Regions from separate parts of the Homo sapiens genome. Here regions 1, 2, 4, 5, 6 and 7 are each linked to region 3. The links are contacts of gene promoters, found by promoter capture Hi-C in human tissues and cell types (Jung and others, 2019). All regions are on one chromosome and are shown on one strand. Each heading gives the region's core, a stretch centred on a gene start or on the middle of the fragment in contact. The rest is flanking DNA. Distances are from core to core; before and after follow the strand shown. Region 1 overlaps LINC01828 (long intergenic non-protein coding RNA 1828). Region 2 has its middle 78 kb from the start of LINC01829. Region 3 holds the start of MEIS1 (Meis homeobox 1). Region 4 has its middle 63 kb from the start of LINC03050. Region 5 overlaps LOC105374785 (a long non-coding RNA gene). Region 6 overlaps LINC01799 (long intergenic non-protein coding RNA 1799). Region 7 overlaps LINC01828 (long intergenic non-protein coding RNA 1828).

The links. The method cuts DNA at HindIII sites, captures the fragments that hold promoters and counts their contacts. A contact is called where the count stands out against the background at its distance.
Region 1: a fragment that was not itself captured here is called in contact with the fragment with the promoter of MEIS1 in region 3 in 1 of the 25 tissues and cell types used here (heart right ventricle).
Region 2: a contact is called between a fragment that was not itself captured here and the fragment with the promoter of MEIS1 in region 3, in 1 of the 25 tissues and cell types used here (H1 embryonic stem cells).
Region 4: a fragment that was not itself captured here is called in contact with the fragment with the promoter of MEIS1 in region 3 in 1 of the 25 tissues and cell types used here (H1 embryonic stem cells).
Region 5: a fragment that was not itself captured here is called in contact with the fragment with the promoter of MEIS1 in region 3 in 1 of the 25 tissues and cell types used here (mesenchymal stem cells).
Region 6: a contact is called between a fragment that was not itself captured here and the fragment with the promoter of MEIS1 in region 3, in 1 of the 25 tissues and cell types used here (H1 embryonic stem cells).
Region 7: a fragment that was not itself captured here is called in contact with the fragment with the promoter of MEIS1 in region 3 in 1 of the 25 tissues and cell types used here (IMR-90 fibroblasts).

What each region holds. Positions count from the first base shown.
Region 1 is chr2:67,257,428-67,260,422 of GRCh38, reverse strand. The region is part of intron 1 of LINC01828 (long intergenic non-protein coding RNA 1828); the gene reads right to left. Among named protein-coding and RNA genes, the nearest start is that of LINC01829, 44 kb to the right of the region's middle. The HindIII fragment of the contact is 7,091 bases long and covers 1-2,995 here.
Region 2 is chr2:67,291,694-67,294,517 of GRCh38, reverse strand. No RefSeq gene overlaps it. Among named protein-coding and RNA genes, the nearest start is that of LINC01829, 78 kb to the right of the region's middle. The HindIII fragment of the contact is 8,300 bases long and covers 1-2,824 here.
Region 3 is chr2:66,433,847-66,436,546 of GRCh38, reverse strand. It overlaps MEIS1 (Meis homeobox 1), which reads right to left and starts at 1,422. Exons shown (of 13, transcript NM_002398.3): 1 at 679-1,422. The coding sequence starts at 690. RefSeq lists enhancers at 1,463-1,562, 1,150-2,026, a promoter at 1,124-1,664 and a silencer at 2,271-2,370. The HindIII fragment of the contact is 8,281 bases long and covers 863-2,700 here.
Region 4 is chr2:65,663,815-65,666,877 of GRCh38, reverse strand. It overlaps the pseudogene KRT18P33. Among named protein-coding and RNA genes, the nearest start is that of LINC03050, 63 kb to the right of the region's middle. RefSeq lists enhancers at 221-270, 361-410. The HindIII fragment of the contact is 5,708 bases long and covers 1-3,063 here.
Region 5 is chr2:66,984,285-66,987,064 of GRCh38, reverse strand. The region is part of intron 1 of LOC105374785 (a long non-coding RNA gene); the gene reads left to right. Among named protein-coding and RNA genes, the nearest start is that of LINC01628, 63 kb to the right of the region's middle. The HindIII fragment of the contact is 3,017 bases long and covers 4-2,780 here.
Region 6 is chr2:66,957,711-66,960,418 of GRCh38, reverse strand. All of the region lies in intron 4 of LINC01799 (long intergenic non-protein coding RNA 1799), which reads right to left. Among named protein-coding and RNA genes, the nearest start is that of LINC01628, 37 kb to the right of the region's middle. The HindIII fragment of the contact is 4,734 bases long and covers 1-2,708 here.
Region 7 is chr2:67,274,663-67,277,647 of GRCh38, reverse strand. All of the region lies in intron 3 of LINC01828 (long intergenic non-protein coding RNA 1828), which reads right to left. Among named protein-coding and RNA genes, the nearest start is that of LINC01829, 61 kb to the right of the region's middle. The HindIII fragment of the contact is 4,406 bases long and covers 1-2,985 here.

The DNA of each region.
Region 1 (2,995 bases), core at 437-2,936, 820 kb before region 3:
CAAGTTTCCTTCAGCTTATTTTTATTTTTTTTTTTTTAAGAAATTTCCACCACTTGAAAGTAGTGCAGTCTCCTGGCACATCCCAGAAGAAGTAGACCTTAAATAGATGAGCTCAAGAAGGATAGAAAGTAAATCAATTTCCATTTTCACAAGCCTGAGTCTGCTTATTTTCAGAGAGGACAAATCATGCAGAAAATAGTGCCAAATTACTCATGGTTTAATGACAATTTCGCAGAAAAGGCAACTGATCTCCACAGCTGTTATGCTCAGGACTATGTCTGGAGAGAGGTGGCTAGACCTGGATTGGGGTATCAGGGTGAGGACTTAATGCCTCAGGGACTAAAGCCTCACTCTGCTTCCTGGCTTGGCGTGGTGATGTAAACAAGATGCTCTACCTCGGGCAGCTGCCAAGTTGCTCTGCAGTACTCAATGGTATTTGTCATGTCTCCTTATGGCTGGCCTTTTTATCCTTGCTGAAACAAAAGAGATCAAACAATGTCATGTGGTATTACTTGAAGTAAATTCTTGGCCAACTCAACTATTTGCATGATAGTGTCTGGTTTATAACTTCTCTTTATTTTTGTTAGATCAACAGATATTTTTCAGGCCATGCTCCTTTTTGAAAGGGTGAGTATACGGGGAGGGATTATGTGCTAATTTTGCTGGACTATTTTAAAACTTTTAAAAGGAAGAGAAGTAGATGATTAGGCCTTTAGTCATGAGACATGACCTCAGTTTTCTCATAATGTTAAACAGGTAGATGTTGACTTATTGGGCTATTTCTTTCCTTGAACATTGCTCATTGTTGTTAGGGCTATGACATCAGCAGAGGCATGGGAACGTAGTACATTTTCTATAAGTGTGTATCAATTTCCCTATCTCATTGGGCTTGCTTTCATAAATATTTTTTAAAAATTTCTCCACCAGAGCACATCCAAAAGAAATACATGACCCGTATAGATAATTTTAAATTTTTTAGTAGCTACATCAAAAAAGTAAGAGCAGTGAAAGTAATTTTCATAACACATTTTATTTAACCCAATATATCTAAAATATCATTTCAACATAGAATATTACAAAAAATTGCTAATGATACATTTCACATTCATTTTTTCATACCATGTCTTAGAAATCCAGTCCATACAACATACCTCAATTTGAACTAGCCACATTTTAAGTGCTCAGTAGCCACGTGGGGCAGGTGGCCACTGTATTGGACAGCACAGATTGAGACTAAACATGATTACCCCAGCTGTTTTCAAAGTGTGTTTGCAATACCAGTGTAAGATTTTGCAGTATTCAGAAATAATCAAGGCTATAGAAGCCTTATATTATTTTATGTGAACACTTTCAGCGTGTCAAGGCACAAAATAAGTATGTATAAATTTGCTTGCCAGCAGGATTTCTTCTTAGTCACCTATTTAAACTACAAGGATGCCAGTAACCCATAGTGAAACCATAAATATTGGATTTATTATTCCTCCTTTCAATGGTATGACAGACATGTGTACTTAAATGGAGAGACAATTTACAATTGTGAAACATACTTTTTATTATTCCTGTCAAAATTATACTATTTTATTTTTTTTAACTAGAAAAGCCACATGATAAGTAAACTCTAGATTGAAATTCAGAAATATCACCCCTAAGATGAGAATACAGTTGACATACGGTTTGGGTGTCTGGGTCATGGTTTGATTCCACATATGGTGGTTCTTCCATGTAACAAACTGTGATCTCAGCTTGTACCACTCTAGTAAGAAGTCACTATTACTTTGATTTGATTAGCTAATCAGAATCTAAGGTTTAAGTTGAAAGGAAAAACAGGAAGATATATTTAATTCTATTATTTGTGAGATGAGAGGGCTGGACTACAATCAGGGGTTGACAAACTTTTCTGTAAAGAGCCAGGGAGTAAATATATTTTAGGTTTTGTGGGCCACACACTCTGATGCAAGATTCAGCTCTGTTGCTGCAGAGGGAAAGCAGCTACAGAACATATATAAATGCATAAGTGTGGCCAGATTTGGTCCAGTATTTGATCACCGGACGAGGTCAAGGACAATAGACGTGATCTATTTCTACTTCTCCCATCCTCCTAAGCAACGCTGGCTCACTGAATGCAGCATCCCCACTGAGTGTAAATGCAGGTCACAGTCCTTTACAACATAGTACTCCAGGCAACCACTACATGACATTTAGAATTGGCATGTTCATTGAAACTTAGTTTTTGTTATCCCTAGATGATTTATAGGACTGTATCTATTTGAGAAATTATCATTTTTACCATGGATATGCACTTTAATATTTGGAATAAAGAAAAGAGTACTATACACTATGTTTTAAATTTAATGGAGGTGAAAGGAATTTTTAGAAACTTGTGTTGTTTGAGAAAGAAGGCCTGCTACCTGCATTTGTCCTGGGATAGACTGTAAGCTATCTACTTACCTCAGGGTCAATCTGTTCTTGGCAGAAAGATGAAATCTGCTCATCACCATCCAGCCTTTAATCTGAAGAAGAGGAATAGTGATGCCATGGGATATGACATTGTTCAAGGGAGAGGTCTAGTCTCCTTACCAGCAGAGGTAACACCCATTTTGTAGGTCAATTGAAGGACCTTGCTTGAGATCCTGAGGCTCGATTTGAATGTATGGCTGTAGGAGGATAGTATTAGGCTTGGGGGCTTATGAGGAGTAAGAATAACAGACAAAGATATTCTAGAAGGCACTGGAGATAACCACCTTGTTATTAGAGAAAAAAAGGTTAACGTTGCTTCTGTTGATTTTTGGAGAATTCATAGGGTTTTTTTTTTCCTATTGAAAGTTGTAATTCTAAGGCCATAAGGTGGCTTATGCCTGTAATCCCAGCACTTTGGGAGGCCGAGGCGGGTGGATCACGAGGTCAGGAGATCGAGACCATCCTGGCTAACACAGTGAAACCCTGTCTCTACTAAAAATACAAAAAATTAGCTGGGTGTGGTGGCATGCGCCTGTAG
Region 2 (2,824 bases), core at 160-2,659, 860 kb before region 3:
CCCTTTCAATTTTAAGTCTATGAATCTGGACAACAGAGACCCATAGTGAGTGAGATTTAATCTTTGCTGATTCAGAAGGTGCTTCAAGGCTTTTCAGTGCCTCATGGACATCACTGTCATCATCAATTACAAGTCCTGGGATGAAACGAAATGTTGGATTCCTAGCTAAAAGAAGACCAGCTAAAACAAACTTGTTAAATATTTTTTTTAAACTACTGCCAGGAACCAAAGTTCCCTCTAGCTCAAGGGTCTGTAAACCTTTTCTTAAAGGGCCAGTTAGAACATCTTTTAAGTTTTTCAAGTTTTTTTTTTTTTTTGCGCTACATAGCCTCTGTCACAGCTACTTGACGCTGCCATCAAAGGGTGAAAGTGAATGTAGGTGATATGTAAATGAATGAACAGGGCTATGACCCACTATAGCATTATTTATAAGCAACTTGGTGGCACTGATTTGTAATTTTCCAACCTCTGCCCTAGATTAAACATCTCCCAATTTTTCACACATTTTTCCTCATCTGGTGACTATACAAAGAGCCAGTCTCCAAACCTAATTACAATGGTTTAAGACCACCTAGGATTTTTTTTATCTTAATGTAGACCATAGATAATGAAATAAAAGAAGAACCAATAAAATAAGTGAATTTGCAAGGGATTTCCAACACTAAAAAAAGAAGAAAAAAAAACAAACTTTGAAAGAAGAGAGTTCTCACAATTGCCTATGGGAAATTAACTAGGACCATCAATTGAGCTAAAATTCTCTCCAAGGATTTAGTTGACATACAGCCAGTGTTCACTATGATGATCATAGCCAAACATTATTTGTGCAAGTATCTACAAATGAATTTAGAGGAAATTGTAATTTTTCTCCTTCATCATTTAAGTGATGAGAAGCCCATCAAAATAATGGCACATGGTAGGGCTGACTGTGCTGCGTGGAAATGATGTTTAAATAATACAGTGCCAGAGCGCCTCTGTCTAATTACCTAAGCACTATTGTGATGGATAGTTTAGAAACATTGAGGTAGCTATTGATAAAGCAAATGGAAAATGTGAATGTTCTTCAAGTTTCTGACACCAGAGATGGACATTGAACTGGTTTAAATGGAAGGCTCATGGCTTCTTTCAATTGCTTGAAGCTTCCTCTGGAGTTAGATTATTTCAATTTCACTGAGTGAAAGTTAGAATCAGCACAGGCCTTTCTGTAGGACATTTTAATTACTCCTAATTTAAAATATTAAAAATCACTATTTTTTTTCCTTTTTAAAGAAAGAAAGTCTGTCATTGACTCACTTCTGATTTTAAAATACCGAACTTATGAAGAATGCATGCCCAAAACACCCGGACAATTCTGCAGAAAGGAGATGCTTGTGTGGGGACATCTCTGGAGTTGCTATTTATGCACTGTGAAAATCTGCAGGAGTCGTGTGATCTCTCAGCCTCATTTTTTAAAAAATTAAGTCTACAATATGAGCTCAAATGCCATTGTGGTAGTTAAGAATATAACCTATGGGGAAGCATTCTATAAAACAAATAAAACTGTGACTGTTATTGATGTTGTTAAATGATTACAAAAATAATAAGAATATTTAAGCTGAACAAAAATTAATTCATTGAAAAAATCAGTCAACTCTCCTCCTGTCTTTAAAAAACTGCTTTAATTGAATCACAATAATTAATGAAGTGGCCAAATGTCAAGATAGCCACAATTTTTTTACTAATAAGGATTCTACTATATGAAATTTCTCTGGTGTTCCCTTTAGAAACCTTACAGAGAAATTGATGATTACTTTCTTGATGGAGTATGTGGGGCCTTTGTCTCCTCACACTCTTTCCAGAGGGTTTATTGGTCTTCCACTATCCATTTCAGTGGCTACTTTGAAAAATGTTTACCCCCAAATACTTAAGTTCATGATTCTGCTTGTGCAAAATTTTTTGTCTGATTTTTGGTGAGAGAAAAGCCAAGTTCATTATATATATGTTTGTATATACCTCCCTGAAATAATGAAATCAAATATATATTTGATATATATATTTAATCAAATATACATATTTTCCAACTTTTAAGTTCAGGGGTATATATGCAGGATGTGCAGGTTTGTTACATAGATAAATGTGTGCTATGGTGGTTTGCTGCACAGATCAACCCATCACCTAAGTATTAAGCCCAGCACCCGTTAGCTGTTCTTTCTTATGCTCTCCCTCTTCCCACTCTCCACCCTCTGACGGGTCCCAGTGTGTGTTGTTCCCCACCATGTGTCCTGTTAATTTTTCAAGTGTAAGAAATATGAAGTTATTGTAATGTTCTACCTGAAAACTTACTATTTAGTTAACATTAGTTATCAAAGTAGCAAAAATAATATATATTACTTTATATAAAAACCATATATGACCATATATATATATATATATATATATATACATAAAATTGAAATCAGGTAGTTTATCTTGGCCTTAAAGAAAAACTCTAACATATTTACTGCTTAAACATGAATGCCTTTATAAACTTTTTTCCTTTCCAATCTGTCTCCAGACTACCCACAGGTCTTTGGTTCATCTCCCTACTTAGGCTGAACTCTTCAATAACTACAAATTCATAAACACTGCAATTTATTCTGTAACAAGCTATAAATCTTCTTTTTGTTGTTTTTACATTAGAAACAGAGCTAATGTTTATTGAGCTCTTGTCCTGTGTGAGATACTTTACTTGATTTGTTTTCATTTCATCTTTATAGCAACACTCTGGGAAGTAGATATTATTATTGTTATTTTAAAGATGAGGAAACTAAACATTAGAGAATAAAATTGGTTAAGGACATACATTTAA
Region 3 (2,700 bases), core at 173-2,672:
ACTACCTCAGTTGGGTTGTCATTGTCTCACTTTACTCTCACTGCATTTCCATTGAAAAAGGAATATGGGGAAATTAGTATTGCATTTTTAAAGTGAGTAACTGTGTGCTTAGTATTCAATTAGTAGAGGGCTTATCTAAGAGAAACTTGCAAAATATTGCCTTGTATACAAGTCTATACAAATTGAAATTACTATAAAAAGATGAATGTTTTCTGACCAAAAAATTGGCTATACTATGACAAAGTTATTTCCTTTAAAAAGCTGAATACTTCTAGTGATATTAAAGATGAGCATAATCAATAACATATCAGAAGTTTCCAGCTGCATATTTTAGTTTAAACATAACTTTAAACTTCTGATCTCTGAATGTTCAAATTACAGCTTTAGGTATCTAGCTTTTTTAAAAAAAAACCCAGATGATTGTTTGAGCTTGCATTTTTATTTATATAGCTGCTGGTTAGGAATCTATAGATAAATAGATTCCTTTAATTAACAACTCCAAGTAACATACATAAGTCTACAAATGCATTGAATAAATCCTCTCGCTTAGGCCACGGCTTTAGGAGCCTCATTTTTTAAAAGAGAGAGAGAAAAAAAGGAAACTTTTTAGCAGTGTCTTTCGGCCACGTTTCAATTTAATCTCACATTTGAGTTCCACAATTGTTTTTTAATACGTACCCTTTGCGCCATCGGCCTCTCTGGCTCCCTTCCTACTTCAACTTCTAATATATCCTCTTTAAGGCCAGTGTGAAAAGAAACAAATATTCAAACTCCCCCGGAAAAAAAAAAAAAAAAAAAAAAAAGCACGACGAAAAATCCCTTAACGTCTCCAGCAACGTGAGCTACTGGTCCCAGATCTTCGGTCTACGGGACCTGAAGCAAAGCGCCCGAGTCACTGAGCATAAAAGCGCTCCGTTTCCAAGACAGCAGCGGGGGCAAAAAAAAGCAGATCTTCTCTCCCCCAAAAATCAGTTTAAAAAAAAAAAAAGAAAGAAAGAAAGAAAAGGAAAAAAAAGAGCGCCCCTCAGACCCAACTACCAAATCTCATGGCTTTCTGCCACTCCAGCTGTCAATCACAGGCGAGGTTGTCAACGTGGTGAATGAATGATCATCCGCTCTGTCTTCTTCTGGTCAGAACACCTCAAATGTTAATATTCAAATGCACAAAGCCCTAGCGCTCGCTTCCCTTGAATCAGTCCTAATTCCTAATCAGTTTCTCTCTTCTCTCTCTCTCTTTCTTTCTCTCCCTCTCTCTCCCTCTTTGCAAGTGCTGCACTGGAAGGAGATTAGAGAAGGAGGGTTAAAAAAAATGTCTGTCTGAGTTTGTCTTAAAGGAGCCACGATCGATGCTGCCCGCTTGCAGTCCCCGTGCGTGTGTAAAGTGTGTGTTGCACAGGCGGAGAGGTGGATTCCGACCAGAATGCTAGAACCCGGAAGTAGTGGTGGCCATAACAGGTCGCGTCTTACACAATGCATTGGGCTGCAGCAAGTAGGCTCCTCGGCAGGGGTGGGTGCGCGAAGCGAGCTCTGGCCGCACTGGAGAGGCAGAGAGGCGCTCCATTAAATCGCACGCCCAGGCACAAACACCACACACCCAGGGCACACGCACACAAACGCAGGCAGTAGCCCGCGGCCGCCAGCTTTATTTTCAGTATTCTTTTCTCTCCCTCCCCCTGCAGACTCTCTCCCCAAAGCCGACTCTCTTGAAATAAATTGGGAATCAACGCCGGGCAGGCAGCAGCGGGAGTTATTTTGCACAGGGCTCCGCGCATAGACTTCATGACTTTCCTCGAAATTATTGGGGTCTGCCAGTGTTTTTCGGGGCAGGGGGTGATGCGCAAAGTACTGAATTCTCAGAACTAAACACTGCAAGGAGAAAAGTCAAAGCGGGATCGTGGAGGAAAAGGAGGGAGAAGCCAGGTTGGGAAAGCCTCTGCTAAGGAGTCCTGAGAACATGGGGTTGAGGTGGCTCGGGCTTTCTGCAGACCCAGCTTAGAGGTTTCTTTGCTGTTAGAGGTGGACGCCCGGCCGGGGGAAAGAAAATGCTAGCATTTTGTCACTTCGGGTCTGGACTCCCCCACCTCCTAGCCCCGGCGGCTCCCAGCCCCAGCCCAGGCGTCCTGCGCGAAGTAGAGAGGAAGGGAGGGAACAATGAGCTGAGCGCGGGGAATGTGCCCCCAGCGCCTGTTTACAAACACCAAGCTATTTATGATCGTCGGAAAGCGAAACCCGGCGCGGGCTCGCAGCAGCCCAGACCTCGCGGGCGGAGCCGGGGCCGGGGAGCCGCTGGGAGGGAGGCTCTTTCTCCGACCCGCTCGGGGTGAGGCGGCCGTGCGCCCAGGGCGCGGCGCGGCGCGGCGCGACGCTGCCGGAGTGCTAGGCTCCGGCTGCAGCCACCGCTGCCTTTGTCTTAGAGGCGCCGAGGGGCTCCAGCCTCGACCTCTCCCGGGCCTGTAAGAACCTCGCGCCCCACTAGCTCTTTCTCCAGCGAAGCCCTGCCCTCACCACCCCAGACATCCTTCCCCGCGCTCCTCTTTCCCGTCCCCAACCCGGCTCGGCGAAACCTCCCAGTGCCAGAGAAAAAGAAATCCGCTTCGGAAGCTGAGATTTCAGACAAAAGCTGCCTGTACCTACAACTCGGAGGCTCCAACCAACCACTGTTTTTTGTTTTGTTTTGTTTTTAACTTTAACACCTATTGC
Region 4 (3,063 bases), core at 221-2,720, 770 kb after region 3:
CTCAGGTCCTCCACGGTCTTGAAGTAATGGCTCCAGTCTCTGACTTGGGGTCCCTTCTTCTCCAGGTGCTCCCGGATTTTGCTCTCCAGCTTCCGATTCTTGGTATCCAGTCTCCTCACTCTGTCCAGGTAGGAGGCCAGGCAGTCATTCAGGCTTTGCATGGTCTCCTTCTTGTTCTGGATGTCTTCCATCCTGCCAGAACCCTGGCCATCCCCACGGCCAGGGCCCCAGACCCCATGCCACCCCAGAAGCTGGTGGAGGGGGACATGGAGATCTGGGAACCAGAGCCCCCAGCCCCTGCAGAGATACTGGTCATGCTGCTGACTGGCCGAGCGTCTTAGCTGGGCACCTGGACAGAGCCCAGGGACTGGTAGTTGGTGGAGAAGGTGGAGCGAGTGGTGAAGCTCATACTGTCCAGGGAGGAGAGAGAGAGGACAGAACTCAGGCTTTACCAGTGACAAATAGTGGGTTTTACAAGATGGAAGTTTATTTCTCTCACACATGCAAGTTTCAGTAGTCAGTGTGTGTATGACTCATCAGGGGCCCAGGCTGCTTCCTGCCTACTGCCCAACCTCCTCAACATGCTGCTCCCACTTCTGCGACCAAGATCTCAGCCAACTGCCTTCCATCCAGTGGGAAAGCGGGTTGAGAAGAAGGCCATGCCACCTCCTTTTAAAGATATTTCCTGGAAGTTGCCTACACTGCATGTACCCAATATGCCATTGATCAGAATTTAGTACCATGACAATGGGTTTAGTCTCATGGTGGGTAGCTGTAAGGGAAACTGAGAAATGTTGTCTTTATTCTGAAAAGCCACGTTTGCAGATGAAACTCACTCTATCACTGTAGGAAAAAAAATGGAAAAAAAAATTGGGGGACAACTAGTGTTTCTGCCAAAGTGGTATTTCCCCTCACCTCAAACCTGGTGGAATGAGCTTCCAGGAGACAAAATGGAGCTTGTTCAAGGTCCCCTGAAGTCTGTGCGGTACCAGAGGGTACTGCCAGAACGCTGGATGAATGAGCCTAAAGGGAAAGGGTGGGTAGCAGGGCTGAAAGCAGAGAGAGGAGAGGAGGGCCTGCATGACTGAGGGAGAGCCAGCCTGGCACCCTCTTAAGGGACTTTGTCTAAGATGGCCTCCTGGGGGCCACTGGGACACAGCAGAGTCTCTCTGTGTGAGTCAGATTACTGGAAAACCAAAGAAACTGCAGATAAGAGACTCCCAGAGATGAAAGGCAATCTCCGAAGAATATACAAATTTTTACTTCTGTCCCCAAAGCAAATCAACTTCAAACTTCTCCCACAGCCAGAAGAAGCCATGTCAGGTGGCATTGATGCCAGTCACATGAGACCCTCCCAGCCATTACCTGTCCTCCCTTCCTACCCACCCCAACCTCAGAGCAGTCGGCAACATCGGTGAGCAAGCTGGCTAGGAGGAAAACACTTGTAAGGTCAGGTGAGAAGTCAAGGCTTCCCAAGTCTTTCTCCCTAACTCAGAATTGTAGGCAAGAGAAAGAGAACAGGAGAGGTTTTCATTTTAAATAGAATTGGAATTTTTCATGATTTATCTGGAATTGCACATTCCATTTCTGTGGTTCTCAACCCTGTCTATCCATCTGGAATTCCTGGGAAGCTTTAAAAATACTGATGTCTGGGCTTCATCCTCAAAGATTTTTTTTTCCAATCACCAAAGATTCTTATTTCACTGGTCTTGGCGGTAGCCTAGGCATCAATATTTTTTAAGAGCTGCCCGGGCAATTCTGATGGGCCACCTGGGTTGAAAACCACTGTGATAATATTGAATTACAAACATTTTTGCAAACAAAAGATCCTGGAGTAGCCAGAAAAGTGATGGAACTTTCTCTAGATCTGACCCAGGGAATGGAGAGCTAACCCCACAGCCCAGGCTTAGAAGGAAAGGATGACAACATTTTACAACTGCATCTGCAGAAGTCCTCACTTTCAATCTAACAGTTATATAAATCCTACCTCTGCAAAATCAGAAGCCTCTTCTGGGCAAAGGCCATGACAGGATTCTATGGAGTCTGCACACTGCACCGCACTTGCTACACCCATGGCAAGAGCTTAGTATATGCTTGTTGTCCTGTTGTTAACCTCTGACCTCCATGCTGGGATAAATCAAAGTGTCCTTTCTGATGCACTAAAGGCAAACTAAGGTGACTCCAAGAGAGCCTTAAACTATATCTTGGAACTAATGAAGAAGATTAAAAAATGCATAAGATATAGTTATTATTATGAAGTGGCTAGAAATCTTCTATCAACCTATGACCAAATTCCATGGCCCAGATTATGACTTCTATATTGAAATTGTCCCACATTTAAGCAAATTGTTGTCTCATTAACCTAAGGAAAGGTCTTCCAGAAGGCTAAAATCACCAACATTGCATTGCAGATTTAAGGAGTAGGCTTTGGTGTCTAGGAATGCTTGAAACCTACCCAGTTTAGTGAAGCTGATCCAGTTGATTAAGCCAGAACATACCCCTCCATCTCTGTCTCATTCCCACATCTCCTAACCTGAGGTAGAGGGCAGTCTCACTGTTCACACCATCACCACAACCACCATCCTCAGTCATGGGGAATCCCGCCCCACTAAAAAAGTCAAGGCACAATGACAGAATGCAGGAAAAAGCCAAGAACTTGCAAAACCACCAGCTGACCTCCAGGAACAGCTTTAGTCAGCCAACCCAAAAATGTCACATCCCAAAGTAGAGGCCTCCAGCATCAGGATTCCACCAGAGATGCTTCTCGAAATGTTCTTGATTCCCCCAAGCCCATGTTTATTGTACAACTCCATCAAACAGGCAGGGGCTGATTGCCTAATGCATCGTACGCCAAGACTCGACACTTGAGAAATCACCTTTTCCTGTGGGTGGATCCTGAAGCTTGGTATCAAGAGAGCCTCCTTTCCATAACCTACAAAGAAAAAGCAAATACTGTGAAGCACGTGCTAGTATGAGAATGGGCCTTCTCCATCACTACCTGTTGTCTTTTGTCTGATTCAAGGACTTTTTTTTAACCTAGAAATAAAATGCATTCCACCATGA
Region 5 (2,780 bases), core at 263-2,762, 550 kb before region 3:
TGATATATTAAGTTGAAAGAAAACATCGGTATCTGAAGTCCAAAGAATACACATCAGTCACCAAGTCGATAGATATGCTCACTTGCCATCATTTTTCTGTGGTATCTGACAGAACTGAATATCACAGTGTGGAAAGATTTTATCAGAAAAGTTTTTCAATTTGTTCTTTAGGAAGATAGATCTGCAAATATTCCCTTTATTCCTAATGATTATAGAATGTAAATCTTGTTATAACCCTATTTCATGTACATTTTATCTCAGGATAAGGTAGATTTCCTTTTAGGCAATTTCTTTTTTGTTTGTTTGTTTTTCTCTGACCAGCAAGCACAATATATGCTTGGTCCTTGGGTTAAGATGAAGCCCAAAAATTCAAACTTTGCATGCTGTGACCATCTTACCATAGGGACATATTAGCTGTATTGTCTTACCCAAACAGTGTCTGTCACATTTCCAATCTGACTACATGTAAAGAATTTCCTGTAGTTCCCATAATCAGTATTTGAATCTTAAAGCATCTTCCAAACCACACACACACACACACACACACACACACACACACACAAGGTATAGTCACCAGGCTATGGTCGAAGCTTCTCATTTTCTACTTATCCACATGACCTTAACTTATTTACCTAAGGAAAAATAGCAACCAGGATTGGGTTTTTTTTTTCCTCTCTAGAAATTTAGGACAATACTATAGAATGTAATTTTATACCAAGCACTGTATCAATAGAGGTTAATGTGATTAAACATCTTTCCTAAGCCTTAGTGAAAACTTTACATGATTCTTACTTTACTGGTGAGGTTTCTAGGATTTGGGACATTTTTAGCTCCTTCTTTTCTGTTCAAGAGGAGAAATGGAAATGTTTCATTGTGCAATTGATTATATTCTTGTTCTCCAAGTGCATGCTGCCTGATGATTTGCATGTGGGGGCAGCCAGAAGGTCTCTGAAACATTTCCCTATAAAACCGTTTTGTTGATAAGCTTTCCCATAAGCATGGCTGAGGAAAATGGGTCAGATTATATTTCTGAAGCTGTTTAAAGAAACATCTTCCAAATTGAGCAATATACTCTAGGCTTTCATAAAGCATCTGAAGTGTTCAAGTTTTCCTCAAGTCAGGCCTGAGAAAAATCCCAAATTTCTCCCCTTTCTCCTGCTCTTCCCAATACCTGAACATGGCCTTCATCCTGCGCAAACTTTATTATCTCACCTAATTACAATAGGTGCTCTTTCAAGGACGGGGGCATGGTTATTGTCCTTCTTTATTTTCTACATATCACAAAGTGTTATTAGATATAATCTCTCCATTTTTATTTCAAGCAGAACAAAATCATTATTAATTAATTTGCAAAGACTTCTAAAGGTTTTTTAGACATGGTCTCCAGGTTGTTTTTATCATTCCACATCTTTTACACTTTTCATGATTTCATTGCTACTTCGAATAGAAAGCAAAGCTGAATTGAGAAATTTAGCTGGAATCTCTATTGCTGCAAATTGTGCAGAGTCCTAATGTTCTGTTTAATATATTCCTTTGGAATCTTGTTTCTTGTGAGGATTTTATTCCCTCTTGCCATACTTGCTGCCTGTGAAAACTGAGCTTCCAAATTCAGAAGTAGGGTGGGTGTTACGTTCCTCAATAGGAATCTCATGGAATGGTGTGTGACGTGATTCTGACAAGGATGGTTGATTTCAACTTCATTCAAAATTAGTTAATGCTAACTTATTTGTGCCTAGTGAACATAGGTGTTCATTTCATTTTTTTTCATTCATTCATGCATTTACTAATTTAATATTTATGAAATAAGTCTCTATGTGATAATCCTTTTGTAGGCTCTTGGGATACAGGATAATTAAGATATAGTTACTGGCCCCAAGAAACACATAGTTTAGATGAAAAGACCACACCTAAATGACTAAACATAAGTTTATGAGAGCAGGGATTTTTCAGTCTTAATAAACAGCTGTCATAGTACCTAGAAGTGCCTGGTACATCAAAGGCCCTCAGTGAATATTTGTTGAATAAACCAATGACTAATATGACATAATGATGGCAGAGGCTTAGTCTATCTTTTCACTGTTACATCCCCAACACCTAGAACAATGCCTAGTTTGTACAAGGAATTCAATTGTACAAGGAATTCAATAAATATTTAGCACTAGCTATGGGACTGGCATGTGATTGGTATGATGATGATGATGATGATAACAATGATAATAAAGAAAACATTAACACTTACTATGTGTCAGTACTTGCACCACCTCTCAAAAAATTATTTAATCTTCGTAACCGTCCTATGAGATTGAAACTGTTACTATTCCCATTTTCAGGTGAGAAAAAGTTAGGTAAGCCATGCATCTAAGGCACACAGCTAGAATTACGGAGCTGAGATTTGAAAGTAAATGATCTGCTTCAACAACACACCCTCTTCAACACTTTGCTACATGCTCAATGCATGTCTGTTCAATTGACTTATCTTCAACTACAGCCAGGCTTTTGAGAGTCAAGAATAACAGGTTAACTGGTCTGAATGTTATTCTCTTGTTTTGTTTTTTTTTTTTTGACAAATCTCCTCAAAACATAAATTCACATAATACAATGAGTAGGAAATATGATGGATATATTAAGTTGAAAGAAAACATTGGTAGCTAAAGTCCAAAGAATACGCATCAGTCACCAAGTGGATAGATATGCAACTTGCCACCATGGACTATGTTACTCATATTTTTCTAGCACTTCACTGCTTGAACATATAGTACTCCATGGAATCCTCACTTACT
Region 6 (2,708 bases), core at 130-2,629, 520 kb before region 3:
TCTGCCTGCAGCCTCAGGCGTCCGAGGGCCCTTTGTGATCGCAGGAATGCCAGCACCTCTCATGTGATCTGGAGAAGGCTGGCTGGCTGCCTGCATTGGTGGTGGAAGGTAGTGGCGGAGAGACTGGCCTGCACTTTCTGAGTTGGCAAGACAAGAGATGCAAGCGTGTCTCCCATGAATCACGTGAGGGAGGTGTGGAAGAGAAGACCAGTGTGGCATTGCATTGGGTTCTGTCCAATATGATCTCCTGGAGCAATGACACACTCAGCACCCACAAGGTACAGGTGTCCCCCAAGGGGCCAATAAAGTCCTTTGGGAAGCAGACTAGGTATTAAAAGTAGAAGTGCTACTTTAAGAAACATGTGACAGTATAAATGTCTAATTTAATTATTAATAAATTTATGGATCAGTCTACTTTTACTATGTTTGAGTCAATTTCAAATAATTTCTGTTTTTCCTAATGTGACAATTATATAATTCCATTAATGTGCTGCAAAATAGAAGTAACCTGAAATACAGCAGTTTAGCAATTTTCTTCTCAAGAAGTTTCAGTGACTACCTGGAATACAGTTTCATCCACCAGAGTTAAGAGAACTTCAGGAGGAAAAGCTCTAGCAAGGAATCTCTTAATAGGATAAATATGTGCCCACAAGGAAAGAATGAGTTTAACAGTACACCAGATCCAGAGAGCATGGTACTTCTCAGCAAAGTGGCATTTTTCTATCCCCTTACCTCTCCCCACTCTCTGTCACTCCTACCTTCAACCCCGGGGTAGGAGAAAAGCCACAGGTGGAGGGTGGGGGAAGCTATCTGTGTAAGCTGAGACAGAGTCCAATAGAAAGACAAATGCTTTCCACACACTCACTGTTGCAGGGTCTCAGCCTTAAGCAGGTACAAGCTAGAGTTGAGAGGCAACTTAAAGGTAAGTCAGGCTTTGGAGTTCTGATGTGATTGGGTCTTTTAATTATTTTGTGACTTGGTTCTGTGACTTAATGAACTGAAGTGACCCAGTGACTCTTTATTATTAGACAGTGACCAGAATTGTTGCAAGTAGCCCGAGTTTTCATTCAAAGCAGAAAAAGTGAAATAAAGTTGAATGGAAACTGCCACTCTATCTCAACTTACCAGTTATTCTACCAACAGCAGTACCATTGACAAAGATATCCATATTAATGAGGATGTTAGGGCCTAAGACAGCAAGTCACGGTCTGACAGAAGAAGGAAAAGAAGACACAAGAATAAAAATGAAAGCACTGACCAAGCCACAAATGGCTCATGAGAAAATGTATAAAGTCCTTCAGGAGGCAGACTTGGTGTTAAAATGAGAATTGCTACTTTAAGAAACATGTGAAAGTATAAATGTCTAATTTAATTATTAATACATTTATGGATCAGTCTACTTTTACTATGTTTGAGTCATTTTCAAATAATTTGTTTTTCCTGATGTGACAATTATATAATTCCATTAAAGTGTTGCAAAATAGAAGTAACTTGAAATACAGCAGTTTAGCAATTTTATTAGTGCCAGTCGGGTACTATTCAATAGTCAACCTGCCAGATCCAAGTGACAATAAGCACGTAAAGATGATGACTTACATGTGTATCCAGTCATCCTAACTCCATTATACGCTCTGTAAGACAAAGAACCATGTTTTATCCTTTGGCACTTAATAAATATTTGTCAAATAAATGAATGATTAAGTAAATGAATGAATAAGATATGCAGCCAATTATGCATATCATTTTGATTCCCATTCTTTAACAAATAGAATTCTACTTGTACCTAAATTACCAAATAATTGCCTTATTTTACTACCTGGCTAGTAGAACACTAGCTATAGAAATCCTCTTACTTGATATTGATCTATTTGCCAGTTGTCAATTTTGTTATATTACTCCATCTGTATTAGTTAATGCCATTGAAATAAATGCAAGTCACAGAGCCAGATGAAATGAAAAGTGGGTAAATTGAGTAGCAATATATGTTACCTAATTATTACACTAAGAGTAAAAAAAAAGTACTGTAAAAACTGTTTTTATAGCTTTAAAGACTATAGATAAATATTTTTTACTTTGTAATTTACATTCGTCACCTATAACAGAGGTGATAAGAAATGTAGGAAAATAATTCATTTTTCAAGTGGCAAAGTCATCTTCCTAGTCCCAGGAAACAAATAGGAGGTCGGTTTTCCTATTCTGTGGACTAACTTGCCTCGTGGTGGGCATGGGAACCAGGGAACCAGTTGCCTCCTATCCAAACAAACCGTGTATCAGAAGACTCAGTGAATAAGTTAGATTTTCAGAGAGGAATAATGTTGAGGTGCTATTTTGCTTTCCCTAGTTGGATCTGCCCTACATGGATAAGCCAGCATCTCTCTTTTTCCAGAACAGGCCTTTCCAGGAACAAAATATTAACGGGTGAAAACCTGCCAAATATAATTGGTAAGAATCATTTTAGTCTCAGATAACTGTTTTTTTTTCTCTAATCTTTCTCAGTTGTAGCAATATGATTTCGTCAAAAACAACATTGGTCAGATACTCTAAGAATCCTTTTGGGTCCCCATTAGTGACTCTTTCCACCAAGCTTGACCACAGCAAACTGCAACCGTACTTTCAACATTCCTTTGAGAAAGCAACCCAACATTCAACTACCACAGATTTATGGTATGAAAAATGGCATTTCTAAGGACCTTTGAAAAACGTTAAAA
Region 7 (2,985 bases), core at 231-2,730, 840 kb before region 3:
CACATTTCAGAGTCCCGGTAGCCCAGGCACTTCTGCTTACTTGTGTGCCCTTTGGACAAGGGAGACAAGAACTCCCTGTTCTGTCTCCACTTCCTTGAGATAAAAGAGCAGCCGTCATCTGCTTTGCCAGGGTAAACTGAAGCCATCTTTGACCACATAAAGATGATTATAGACCCCAGAGCAAAGTATCAGTGCTACATAATGATAACTAGAAGGTGTTTGTTGGCATATACAAATCTCAGGATGGCAGGATAGATGCAAAATGCCCAAAGATTTTTGGTCCAAAATGTGTTGCAATTTTAAACAAAGAATGGAAATGTATGGCAAGAGCCTATCTCCTGAGAAATGGATGCATCCCTGGCTGCTCATTTTGCCCATTAAGTACAAGATTTGCTAATCATCTAGGGGTGACCAGATTCCTTCAACTCTTCCAAGCCATTTGCTTGGAAAGTGAACAAAATGGACCATGAAGGTGGTGCTCGTTTCTAATTCAATGTGTATGCCTCCCCAGTGTCTTTCTAATGCATTCACATCACAGCAGAATGCATCTATACTAACATATCATTTAAATTTTCATTATCTTTGCTCTCTTAATCATAGTCCGGATTCAGTTATACTATAATAAAACCAGGCACATTTACTGAGCACTTACTATGTATCAGATAATGGGTCAAGTCCTACACATATATTTAATTCTTTCCACAACTCATAAGGTAGGTTCTAGTTTCATTCCCATTTTGCATAAGGAAATGGAAGCTTAGAGTCACAGTGGTGTGCCTAATGGAATATGCTGTGCTTCCCCAGATACACCGTGCCCTCTAGCTACCCAGATTCAGGACCTTCACAGAAGGGTTATCTTCACAGATAGGGTTATCTTTTCTAACTCTGGAGTTGTAGCTGTAGATAATGGTAGTCACAATTCCATACAGAGCAGGGGCTCATTTGGATTCTCTTTCATCCCAAAGTCACAGAAGTAGGTGAGTAGGGCTCCTGCTAATTCCAGTCCTCCCACTTGGTCCTGATGCTACAGAACCACTCCTGAGCAAATGGTGCACAGTGCCCATTGCTGTGTTGTCTTTTGGACAAGGTACTTATTGGAACCAAATAGTACCTTCTATTTCTCTCTCTTTTTTTGTGAAAGATCACATGTATAAAAGAAAGGACATATGAAAAATAAGTCTTTAATTCACAGCCCAAACTATTGCTTCCTAGTTTGAGAAGCTTACTAGTATCTGGTCCATGCAGTTGGATATACTTTTATGTTTTATTTAAGAAATCCAGAGTGATTTCATTTTCTTCTTCTTTGGACCTTTTTTTTTTTTTTTTTTTCTTTTTCTTTGGAGGTCACCATTTCTGAGCTGGAAAGTTAGGACTCATTGGATGATCATGAATACATAAGAAGGTAGAAATCGGTGAAGGGCCCACTATTAACCTATCATTTAGAAATGATTTTCATGGGTCATTTATTAAGAGCCCATGGAAAGAGTTCTGCAAAGATCCCTGAAAGAAATGCAGCTCTTGCCCAGTCATCACCTTTTACGGTTGAGAAAGTTGAAGCTCAGAGAAATTATAAACTCCACCAAGTTTTGTACAGGTTAGTAGCAGAGTCTAAAGTCTGCTGTTTTACCCTTATTTTGGTGTTCCTTTAACACGTATTATTGTACATCTACTGTCCTAGGAACTGAGCAAATTACATTTGTTGTTTACCCCAAACTTTGATATTAGGAAAGAAAAAAACATGTATCTTAAAACAACGAAAGGAAGATCTGTTTCCTTTTTCATCTTTTGTGCATTTGCCCTTTTTCTAGTTTCTTAAGTTTAATGTTTCTTTTTTAGTAACCTATAGGACATTGCACTAGGCCTGAAGGAGAAAGAACATTTTGGGCTGCAGTGACAAGAAAGTGATAGTTTAATGCAAGGTTCCCCCAAAATGTTATGAGAAGCTTCTATTTTACATTTTATTTTCATTGTTGGTTTTTTGTTTTTAAAGATGGTGAGTGGGGCAAAAGTGAAATTTCCACTGAAGTGAATTTTGGTCTTTTTTACTGTGATTCATGGTAAGAAAAAGTTATATATTATAACTTAGCATATATCTAATATATATACATACAGACACATACATATATATACACACATATAGTTATAACTGAAACATGAAAAGTGTCATGAAATATACTCACGTAAGAATAAAAACAGTAAATTTAACATCAAATATGATTTTATTAATATTCAAATACTGTAAGATGTGTCACCCTTTTTATTCTACTCTATTTCATTTTTTTTTAAGGTAAACAAAGCTCAGTAAATTAACCAAAGCAATTTGGGCAAATGTTTCAATTCTCCATTTAATTTTGTTTGTAAAAATACAGAAAGGTCAGGTGACCAGTGAATTTTGGTCTGGGTTAGCCCTCTATCTCAGACTGAGAGATTTGCCATTTAAATGCTAAGGGTACAGAGGGAAATCTATCCCTAATTTATTTTTTGCCTTCAAATTTCCTGAAATCCAGTCATGTGAGTAATCTTGAGCGATAACTGAACCTCTCTGAACTTTCATCACACCTGTTAAATGAGGGGCAGGTATACATGACTCTCATGATCCCTTCCAGCTTCAAAAGTGTGTGATTCCATGGTATTTTTTTATTTGATACCTGGATACTTGTGAAAACAAAGTCCTCTCAAATGTATTCTATGCATAAACTAAGAATTTCTAGAACCACAAATGTATTCCTCTTGAAGTTACTCTAAAATGTTGACAGATGTGAAAGTGAGCATTATCGAATGCTTAGTTTTACATTTGCATTCAGATCTGTTGTTTCAATGGGGACATTTTTATAAAATAAAAATGTGTTACTGCTGTTCTTGGAATTCTCCTGGTTCCACAGCAGATTTAATTAGCTTAAGCACTGTCTTCTTCTGTGCACTTTGGTTTTGGGAGGCTTTGCCATTGTTAGCTTTGTGGTATCCCAGGGAGAGAGAGGTCCAGTT